2 separate regions of the Homo sapiens genome follow, and region 1 is linked to region 2. Evidence: promoter capture Hi-C in human tissues and cell types (Jung and others, 2019). All regions are on one chromosome and are shown on one strand. Each heading gives the region's core, a stretch centred on a gene start or on the middle of the fragment in contact. The rest is flanking DNA. Distances are from core to core; before and after follow the strand shown. Region 1 holds the start of LOC124903951 (a long non-coding RNA gene). Region 2 holds the start of TMEM11 (transmembrane protein 11).

Region 1 (5,656 bases), core at 2,321-4,820, 240 kb after region 2:
ATTGCCCAGGCTGGTCTTGAACTCCCAGGCTCAAGCGATACTCCTACCGCAGTCTCCCAAAGTGCTGCTGCGAATACAGGCGTGAGCCACTGCGCCCGGCTCCGATTTTGCAATTTTAATTGTTCTGCAAAAGTTTCCTCTGAATATTCATCATTCTGCAGTGTGTGAATGAACACAGCCTGAAATGTTGAGAGACTTGAGATAGAGTTTAAAATATGGTGATTTTATTCCTCGTGTGTCTTCCAGGTGAGAATCCACACGTTATCACATGAACCAGTGATGTGTGTCATAAGGAAATTAAGAAACAAACCTATACTATTTTTGCTACCCTTATTCTCTGGAAAATGAACTGTAATAGATTTCTAGAATTAATTTTTGATGCTAAAAATATTATCATTCCAATTCAATAGTGAGAACAGCGCCGCGTTCTGTGCTACGCTAGGGGGAGCACCCACTTTGGTAATGAACATCGTTCCCTGTTCGTCTTTAGTGAATTAAGGGCCGGATGAGGAAGTGGGAAATAGGAGGAAGCTGTGCCTCCCCGGAGGAGCACGTGCCCTCAGAGCCATAAGGCAGGAGCAGAGGCTGCCTGAGTTTGCAGCGCGAGGCCAGGGGGCTTCCCTGGGACTCGGCGACCGCCCTGTGCGCTCGGACGCGCAGGCAAATCCCCGCTCCGCTGCGCCTGGTGTGCACGGAGCCCTCCTACTTGCTTCCTACGCCGCTTATCCGTTTATCTGCATCGTAAAAGCCAGCGTTACTTTGTTTTCGTTTCAACTACTTTTCCAGTGCCACGGGATTTCATGCAAAGTGCCTTAGACGGTAGAAATGCCTACTCCTCTCGTTTCCTTATTCCTGGAATGCGCTCACATGCGGCCACGTAGGGACCTGGGACGCTCAGCCCTTTCTGCGCCCTTGCCCTCTCCGGGGCGGCATCTGGCAAGGAGGGCGGCCCAACACCGCAAGCCTGATCCCAGGGGCTGACCTCTGGACGGTCTCAGGGACTGACTAGGGATGCGGCCGCGGGAGGGGGCAGCCGAGCGGGGAGAGGACTGGGGGAGGGGCGCGGGGTGTGCTCTTGGGGTAGGGCGGGGCAAGGGTGGCTTCGGGAGGGACTGGGAGGGGGCGGCCCTAAGAGAGCGGTTGGGCTCCCTGGCTGCCTGTACACTGGTGCTTTTTTCTTTGCTAACGCCCTGGATGTCACCAGCCCAGTTTGCTCATCTCGCCGGCAGCCCCACTGTGGTTCCGTTATTTTCTGAGAGATTTTCCCTTCCTTTCTCTTTTTGCCCTAGACCAGAACTGCGAGCAGACACCCCTAGCACCCCGGAAGATGGGCTATGGTCTCCGGCCACCTCCTGCCCGTTTCTCATTAAAGCTTGAGAAGGAGGAGGGTGGCTGTGTCCCAGGAGCTGGGTTGGCACCCTCAGTGAGGTTGTGGGGCTCTCGTGGAGAACACAAACCATCCCTCAGGACAGCAGCAGCAGGCAAGACCCCAGATGGTCCTGATCAAGACAAAGACAAGCCACTCCAGCATCCTGTCTGAATACAGACAGATGGGAGCATCTCTCAGGCCAGGAGTGCCAGCCGTGTCCCCTCCCAGCCCACATGGTGACTGCTGCTTTGGCCTTGGTGACAGCCTGTCCTGCCCTTGTCAGGCCTCCCGGGGGATGAGGTTTATGAAGCTTCCAGTGTATACCTACCTCCTCCTGCTTCCTGACAGTGCTCAACTCAGAGCCAGCCCCCTCTCCCGTTAGTCCACCCCTGGCCAGCTGGCACACACACACAGCCTGCGGCAAGGCTCTTCCAAGCCTCTCACTGCACCCTCCACAGCGCCATGGCATATTCTTGCAGAATGGAACAGTAAATCCAGCTGTAGTTTAACAACAGGTGTGTCTCTGGTAGGCACACTAGGCAGCGGCTCATTGGCCTGTATTTAAAATATGAACATGTGCATGACTGCAAAGGCCTAGATCCTCACTTTTTCCTACAAACCAGAATTGCTGTTCTCAAAGTTTAAACCACATTTGCAATACATGAGATCGATCCACAGCCTGAGTGGAAGGAGCCACATGCAGGGGATAGGGGGCCAGGCCACCCTTGGGCAGAGAATGTGGGTGCATGGAGAGGGTGTGTGGGGCAGGAAGGATCCCTGAGTGTTTCGAGCAAAGAGTGTGTGATCCTGCCTGCCCTTGGTGCCGTCCACTGGGGCTGGTCAGTGAGGCCGAGTCCATCATGGTGGTGGGGACACATGGCAAAACTAGAAGCCCTGGGGGAGCTGGGGGAAGGGAGCAGGCACCCATTATGCTGCCGTTGCAGTTTTCTATAAGTTCTATAATTATTTCAAAATAAAATATTTTAAAATGACCATGTCCCTAAAGGAGGGATAATAGTAAGCCTCACAATAGAGATTAGTCTGTACTCAGACCCACTTCAGCTCCAGCTGTGAAGCTTCTTCTGCTCTCCGATTCCAGAGCCTGATGGTGTTAAGGAGGCCCCTGTGGATGTTACAGCGATGTGGATGTTATGCTACAGACATCACAGTAATGACACTTTGGAGTCTCGGGTGATTTCCCCATTCTGTGCAGGCGGCAGGATTTTCCATTTCCCTTTTCCCACATGAGCCCTTCCCCTACTGGGTATCTTGAGACTGACCACCCTTTGCCCCAGGCTGGAAGCCACAGAGAAGGCCATCTACTTGGGTTTCTCCCTTCCATGGAGCCTCCCTGCTTCTGTTCATCACCTGGGTCCCTCTCAAAGACCACAGAAGCTGCTCTCAGGTCTAATTTTCCATCTTGATTGTGCCAACAGTGAGTTTCACACATGTATGTTTCAGGCAGAGAGACGCTTGCACAGAGTGTGGGGATACCCTTGGTGGCTCTTTCCCCTCCGGGATTCTTCCTTCTTTCTTCTTCTTCCTCCTCTTCTCCCTCCCCTCCTCTCCTTCTCCCTCCCTCCCCTCCCCTCTTCTCCTTCTCTCTCTCCCTTCCCTCCCCTCTCCCTCTCTTCCCCTCCCCCTCCCCTTCCTATTTGTCACCCAGGCTGAAGTAGCGAAATGACAGCTCACTGCAGCCTTGAACTCCTGGCCTCAAGTAATCCACCCGCCTCAGCCTCATGAGTAGCTGTGACTACAGGTGTGCGCCACCACTCCCGGCTACATTTTTATTTTTTGTAGAGATGGAACCTTGCTCTGTTGCCCAGGGTGGCCTCAGTCCCTCTGGGATGCTACTGGGGAGTTACAGTGTCTCTGGGGCACAAGGGATTGACTTGATCATGACTGCCATTCCCCAGATGGTGACCCAGGTGCTTGAGAAGCTCATGCCTTTCCGGGCCCATCTCAGAGGCAGTGGGGATGATCATCAAGGGTCTTCCTTGTGACTGATGGGGAGCAGCCATTCAGGGGCCCTGGTGGGGGCCCTGGCAGGGCACGGCCTGCCACACCATTCCAAAGGTTCAGATTGTGACCTGCACACTGCAGGTGTCCCTTGTCCATCCCTACAGGGAAGAGTATGGCCATCTCCATTAGGCAGTGCCTTGGGTGTCCAGATGGCTTCCAGGGGTGACACTGCAGGTCTGAGAGAACTTGGATTGGAGAAAGGAACTGGAGGGATGGAGCAAGATTGGGCTCATAGGCTCAGCATCCCCAGGGAGCTGTGGTGACATGAGCCCAAGTGGGAATAGGTGTCTCTGCCGCTGTGGGAGTCCCAAGTTGGTGCCTGGGGAGGGCAGGGCTGAGGGGTTGCTGGGAGGTGAGTGTTGAGAGGCCTAGGAGGCCACGTCCATGAATGGGTCTGGAGACCTGGGGGGCTGGGTCTGAGGGAACGGGAGCAGGTATAACCGAGGGAGCTGGTGGGAGGACTCCAGCCCAGCTGTTCAGGGGAGCCCTGAGTCACTTTGGGGGTGTGAGGAGAGTGGAGGAAGTGGATGGTCCTGGTGCCTCAGGTGAGGGGGCGGGCTGCAGGGGGCCAGCCTTGTGAAATGCAGATCAACTTGGAGGTGAGCTCGGGAGCATGCAGGTGAGGACCCAAGAGACCGGGGGGTGCTGGGGCAGGTGGGGCAGAGAGACCAAAGACTGAGGCCCAGCAGGACCTGGGGTAGAGAAGAGAGGGTATAGGGAGGAAAAAGGGGGCAGCTTCACCAACTCATCAACTAAGGGATGGTTGGGGTGGGCCAGGAGCTAAGCAGGGGGTGGGGTGATGGGGGAGATGGAGCCCTCACGGGGCAGCGGGGCCCTGGGCACTGGTTTATGTATGAACAGGTGGGCAAGTCCTCTAGAGTCGTGGAAAGTAAACATGAAACCCACAACTGCACACACGTCGTCCCTCGTTTTTGTCATGGCGTTAATCTCCAAGTGGCTTTGGTTCTTCCCCAGGCACAGAATGAAGCGACCCAGGTCATCACTGTCCTGGAGCTGCCCCTGCCTACTTTGACTTTTCTTCTTGGCCTGTATCTATGTCTGACACACACCAGTTAGTTTACGTGTAGGTCCATATGTTTATTGCGGCACTATTCACAATAGCAAAGACTTGGAACCAACCCAAATGTCCATCAATAACAGAGTAGATTAAGAAAATGTGGCATATATACACCACGGAATACTATGCAGCCATAAAAAAGATGAATTCATGTCCATTGCAGGGACATGGATTAAACTGGAAACCATCTTTCTCAGCAAACTATCACAAGGACAGAAAACCAAACACCGCATGTTCTCACTCATAAGTGGGAACTGAACAATGAGAACACTTGGACACAGGGCGGGGAACATCACACACCAGGGCCAGTAGGGGAGGTGGGGGAGTGGGGGAGGGAAAGCATTAGGAGAAATACCTAATGTAAATGACGAGTTTATGGGTGCAGCAAGCCAACATGGCACATGTATACCTATGTAACAAACCTGCACGTTGTGCACCTGTACCCTAGAACTTAAAGTATACAAAAAAAATTTACCTGTAGATCAAGCCAGGGATGTGAACTCTGGGCCGGTCCTGCACTGAGCGACTCCTTGATCCTGGACCAGGTCTCCTCCCGCAGGCGCCTGGCCCCGCCCCTCCCCTCAGTCGCCGGGCCCCGCCCCTCCCCGCAGGCGCCTGGCCCTGCCCGGCCCGGTCCCGCCCACATCAGAAAGCTCAGAGCAGGCTGCGGGCAGTTCCCGGGTTAGTCAGCAGGGGGCGCGTGAGGCGGCCTGGCCTGGCGGCTCCAGCTGAAATCAGCACAGCAGGAGGGAGGGTGACAGTGCCCTCCTATGCAGGTCAAACTACTAACAAATGATGTGGCTGGAGAATACTTGACAGCACGATGACTAAACACGTCAGTATAAAATGAGATCATGAAGCATGCTGTGCCCAGCTCTGCGGTTAGTTCACAGTATTTTACAAAGCGTCGTTTCCAAACGCTCAGGAAACACCAGCTACCTATAATAACGCGTGACACGCACCTTCTTCAACACTCAGCACAGCTCTGCAATAATGGCCCAGCCTGATCTTCACGTTGGAGGTGAGGACACAGGCCCTGGAGGATTCAAGTGGCAAGGTCACAGAAGTGGTCACAGGGGACCACAGCCCCCCCTGCCTGGACTGCCCTAGGCTCTGGATCTGTAACCCCTGGCTTGCTCCCCATTCGCCTGCCTGACCACAGCTCCGAGGCCTCTGAAAAGCCTGGC
Region 2 (5,009 bases), core at 350-2,849:
CTGCTAATTTGCAGATCCATTTTGAATAAACAGTTGTCTCAAGCCAAAACAAAAACAATTCTCAGCATCTATTTTCTTAGATCAATAAAAGCTTAACCTGTGCTGGCAAGGCTCCTGTTCCCTGCCTGAGGCATCCCTATTCGGCTCTTTTCAGATGCTTTTAGTCCAACAAGAGGGCGTATGTTTCTAATACTTTGTTTTCTAAACAGGTTATTTCGTATTACTGTTTGCATTGAATATCTTGAAAATGTTTGCTAGTTTTTAAGAGCATCTGAAAACCATTGAGGTAACTTATTTAAATGGTCCAATCTAATACCAGGCGGGAGTTAGAAAAACAAAAGTGTGTTTACCACTGCTTTTCCAAGGAAGAGGAAATGCAGAATGGGCAACGCTGGATAACTGGGCTAAAGAATAAAGTGCAAGCAAGCTAAAGGATTCTATCACAACTGCCAAACAGGAAGAATCTTCCCAGCTGGGAAAGCCATCTGCAAGCAATAGCAATGAACACGGGATGGAATCAGTCACAGAAAAGGAATAATGCAGAGTAGTTGAGAGGAAGATAACTTTTCTGTTAGACAATCCTCACCAAAAAGACGGGGAGGGGGAGAACCAGCAAAACAAAAACTTTTCCTTTTTTGCTGACCGCTGCTATAACAATCAAGCTTTAGCGGACAGTTAATCCAGGTGGCTCCACCAATACATCTTCTCCCAAATTTCTAGTGGCTGAACAGCTTCTAGTGGTTTCCACTAGCTGAAACTGCTTCCCAGATGCAAAAACTGCAACTTGAACATGAAACACGGAAACTACTCCAATCTCATCTTCTAGAAATCAGTTATTCAAATGGAGGTCCCTGTTGGAAGAAACACGCTCCTAGCTCCCTGCCCACACACCATTCATTAGGAAAGGTCACTTTAAAGGACTTCTACGGCAGGAGCGCTTGCACAGAACCATCCAAAAGTCTTCAGAATCTTCCCTCGAGGAAGTGGCCGGCTCTGGGCTCGGAAGAGACACATCTGGCGGGAGCTAAAGCTCCCTAGTAAACGTGCAGATCAAACTACCCCTGCCGCGGCCGGCCTGCTCTGTGAAGGCTTCCCCTTCTTTCTCTCTCCGGGGGCCCTGCCTTCCTCTACACGTCTGGGGCCGCGGCCGAGATGGCCACGCGCGTGCCCAGGCGGGAAGGGTGCTTCAGCAGCCGATCGGCCCGCGGGCAGCTAGGCGGGTCCCTGAGGCCTGCGCTGGGCGCCAGTTCCTTTCAGCACGGCCCGGCCTCGGGCCCCGCCCCGCATGGCCGCTGCCTACCTTACTCAGCCCGGCTAACGCCCCTTCCCCTAAGCTCTCCGCCGAGGCCTTCGACCTCGCTCCCACCCGGATCCCGGATCCTCCGGAACTGGAACCCAGTATGCCCGGCGAGGGTAGGGGGAGCGCGGGGAAACCAGGGAAGGAAGGCTGCTGCAGCCCTCGGAGGCCGCGCTGGGCTCTCCGGCCGCTGAGCCGCCTGCACTGGGGGCAACAAGCCCTTGGATCTCACCTCTCTCGGGCGCTGCCGCCACTGCTGCCCGGGCCAAGACGCCTCCTTCCCCAAGCGGCCATCTTGGAGACACTCTGCTTGCCAACGTCTCGCGCCAAGGCGGCATCGGGAGAGCAGGCGGGCCGACGGGAAGTGTAGTCCGGCCTGCGGTCCGGGGCCGCTCGGCAGGCGGAAGCCAGACCCGGCGGAACTACCGTGCCCACAAGGCAGCGCGCCGGAAGCCCCGCCCCCGGGGTCGCCGGGGCCCGTAGTCCTTCTGCGAGGGCGCGAGGACTCCAGGAGCCGTCCTGGTTCGAGCATTTCTGAAGAAACTGAGTTCCCGGCGTTCGCAGCCTGGGAGTCACAGGCGCCCACCCACCGGTAGGTCCTTGAGTTTCGAGAGCCAGTAGCTGAAGGAGAGAGGAGAGGCAAGTGCCTACAACTCCCAGAGCACTGCGCGGAGGCGCCCGGCCGCGCTGTCCTGGCCGCCAGGCTGCCTCTCCCGCTGGGGGCCGCCGCGCTGTCTGCGGGCTACTAGCGCCGGGCCCCTCCGCGTCGCCACGCCTGCCCTTCACAGCCTTGGCCCATAAGGTCACCGAGGGGCGGGAGGCGCCGCCCGGGCCCTCCTTGGAGGCGGGCGCTGCTCCCGCACCATCCTCCCCCAGTTCTCTTAGACTCCGGGGTACTTTGGAGGCCGAGACAGACACGCTGTCCCTGCTGCCACGGAGGTCCCTGCTTGCAGGTGCAGGCTGTTAGAGGAGAGGGTCTGAAAACAAGAAAGGGGAATAGCTGTATGATAACTGCTTGAAGGCGAGAGGGCCCAGCGACAGCTCTGTTTTAGACAGGGCCTCCAGGCCTCTTAGACTCAGTCCCTGCCACGCACCCACTCCTGCCCTGGCCGCTGCGACGGCATAATCTCGGGATCTTTGAAGGCAGATGCGGGGCTAAACCATCCCACCTGACGGGAACCCTGCCACAGGACCCGACATATCCCTGTCTGGACACTGCTGTAACGAGTCAAAGTCAGGAAGGACTAACTGGAGCCCAGAGATTCCCAGGTGCTGCTGCCTCAGACCTGTGGACTCTTTGGAGGATCTCTTACAGTTTGTGAACTTCTCAGTTCCTCTACTGCTCCCACAGACAACGTTGCTAAACATATTAATTGGTCCCATAAATACTTGAGCAAAACAAATGCGAAAATCTGTCCCGAATTCAGCCTAGAAGAAGCCCAGCCCTGCGCGTCACACTTCTGTGTAGTGGAACCCCCCTTCCCACCCCGCCGCAGGCCACAGCAGGAGGGCCAGCAGACGGAAAGGCGACCCTCTCCTTGTTGAGGATTCCTTTCGATTTCCTTCCAGCTGACATTCTACCACAGTTTTAGCTGCTTGCAATCCTCTCACCGTCCCTCATCACCTACAGTGTGTGATTCAAATTCCTTAGCACAATCAAGAAGCCCCTCCTTAGTTTGGAAGTTGCCTAGCTCTCCAAATTCAACTGCCTACCTTTCCCGTCTGGAACTTGCCAGGCTAGTAAATTCAGAGGGTTTGCAGATACGTAGATGTTCTATGCTTTACCTAAAATGCTTTTACCTCCCAGCCAACTTTTTTTTTTTTTTTTGAGACAGAGTCTTGCTCTGTCGCCCAGGCTTGAGTGCAGTGGTGCGATCTTGGCTCACTGCAACCTCCGCCTCCCAGGTTCAAGCAATTCTCCTACCTCAGCCTCCTGAGTACCTGGGATTACAGGTGGTGCCACCACACCCAGCTAATTTTTGTATTTTTAGTAGAGACGGGGTTTCACCATGTTGGTCAGGCTGGTGTCCAACTCCTGACCTCATGATCCATCCCCCTCAGCCTCCCAAAGTGCTGGGATTTACAGGCATGAGCCACGGTGCCCAGCTCTCCCAGCCAACTTTTGTCCTTCAAGACCTTGTACCTGTCTGGTCTCTAAAAAGTACCTGGCCTTCCTGTTGAGTCATACAGCCCTGCCTCCAAGTGTCAGCGTAGTTCATGCTGGAGACCTCTTAACAGTTCCATGGTATGACACTGCGGATATGGCTGTCTTTTCTTTGTATCAGTGTGGTGATTCAGAGGGTATACTAGGGATTCTAGAACGCACTTCTGGCTCAGGGGCTGCTTGTGTAACTTCTGTTTCTCAGCTGCCTGGTTTGTATCATGGGATGATAGTATCTCCCCTCAGAGGATTGCGGTATTTCATGAGGTGATACGTGTATGGAGGCCAAGTGCTGTTTTATATTTTAAGTGATCTACATCTTGATTTTCACAACAACTGTATAAAAGTGATACTGTTGGCCAGGTGCGTTAGCTCACGCCTGTAATCCCAGCACTTTGGGAGGCCAAGGCGGGTGGATCACCTGAGGTCAGGAGTTCAAGACCGGCCTGGCCAGCATGGTGACACCTCGTCTGTACTAAAAATACAAAAATTAGCCGGGCATCGTGGCACACGCCTGTAATCCCAGCTACTCGGGAGGCTGAGGCATGAGAATCATTTGAACCCGGGAGGTGGAGGTTACAGTGAGCTGAGATCGCACGACTGCACTCCAGAATGGATGACAGAGCAAGACTCTGTCTTAATAATAGTATCACTTTTTTTTTTAATCAACAATCTCATTTTGTAAATGAGGAAATCAACTTACAGACGACCTGAGTGACTTGCTCACACTGCCAGCCAGGAAAGTGCTAGGATTTGAGCCCAGACTGTCCAGTTACAGAGATTACACTCTGCCATTGTGCCTCTCCAGAAGCACTGGAGGTAGGTCTAGTGCATAGAGTAAATGTAAATGCTGAAACAACTGTGGCCCTAATGAACATCCCATTTCTCCAGCTTTTTACTCTCCCCTTAACTTCTGAATGACCGTCTGCTTCTAATCTGCCAACTTGGTCTAAGATCCTCACGGTGTTTCCTCCTGATTACTGTTAATGCACGGAGGTTGTCTGGAAGGTTCATAGGCAGCCTGATTGACTCAGTATGTATTAGCTGAGCACCTTTGGAGGGCACAGCCTGAGTGGTGGGAATTAGTTCCTGGGGGCTGTCCTGCGGTGGAGACTCCCGTGAGCCCTCTGTCCTGCTGTATGAAGGCAGCCAGTGGAAAGGCATGTCCTCGCTGGTGCTCAAAGTAATCTGCTACTTCTCTTACTACACTTTTCATTCATTCATTCTTAAATCGTTGAAGGCATACTCTGCAGGTACTCTTGGGCACAGAGATACGGTGTTTAGTAAGACAAACACTGTTCCTGGGTCTTAACGGGCTTTACATTCCAATGGGATAAACAACTTAAGTAAATATTTTCAGAGAGGAGTACCAAGAAGAAAAGGAACAGGATGATATAATGGAGTGACTTGGAGATCACAGGTGGTAAGAGGTCACTCTAAAAAGGTAACATTTGAAGGCTGGGCACAATGGCTCACACCTGTAACCCCAGCACTTTAGGAGGCTGAGGAAGGAGGACAGCTTGAGTCCAGGAGTTTGAGGCCAGCCTGGGC

Evidence for each region. Contacts are between HindIII fragments. The study calls those that stand out against the background at their distance.
Region 1: a fragment that was not itself captured here is called in contact with the fragment with the promoter of TMEM11 in region 2 in 3 of the 25 tissues and cell types used here (adrenal gland, dorsolateral prefrontal cortex and stomach).

What each region holds. Positions count from the first base shown.
Region 1 is chr17:21,452,042-21,457,697 of GRCh38, forward strand. LOC124903951 (a long non-coding RNA gene) reads left to right here and starts at 5,154. Exons shown (of 2, transcript XR_007065664.1): 1 at 5,154-5,656. RefSeq lists a silencer at 4,994-5,073. The HindIII fragment of the contact is 8,684 bases long and covers 1-5,656 here.
Region 2 is chr17:21,212,562-21,217,570 of GRCh38, forward strand. It overlaps TMEM11 (transmembrane protein 11), which reads right to left and starts at 1,600. Exons shown (of 2, transcript NM_003876.3): 1 at 1,530-1,600. The coding sequence starts at 1,591. TMEM11-DT (TMEM11 divergent transcript) reads left to right here and starts at 1,764. Exons shown (of 2, transcript NR_184102.1): 1 at 1,764-1,889. RefSeq lists enhancers at 1,502-1,601, 2,372-2,581 and silencers at 1,682-1,821, 1,942-2,211. The HindIII fragment of the contact is 15,648 bases long and covers 377-5,009 here.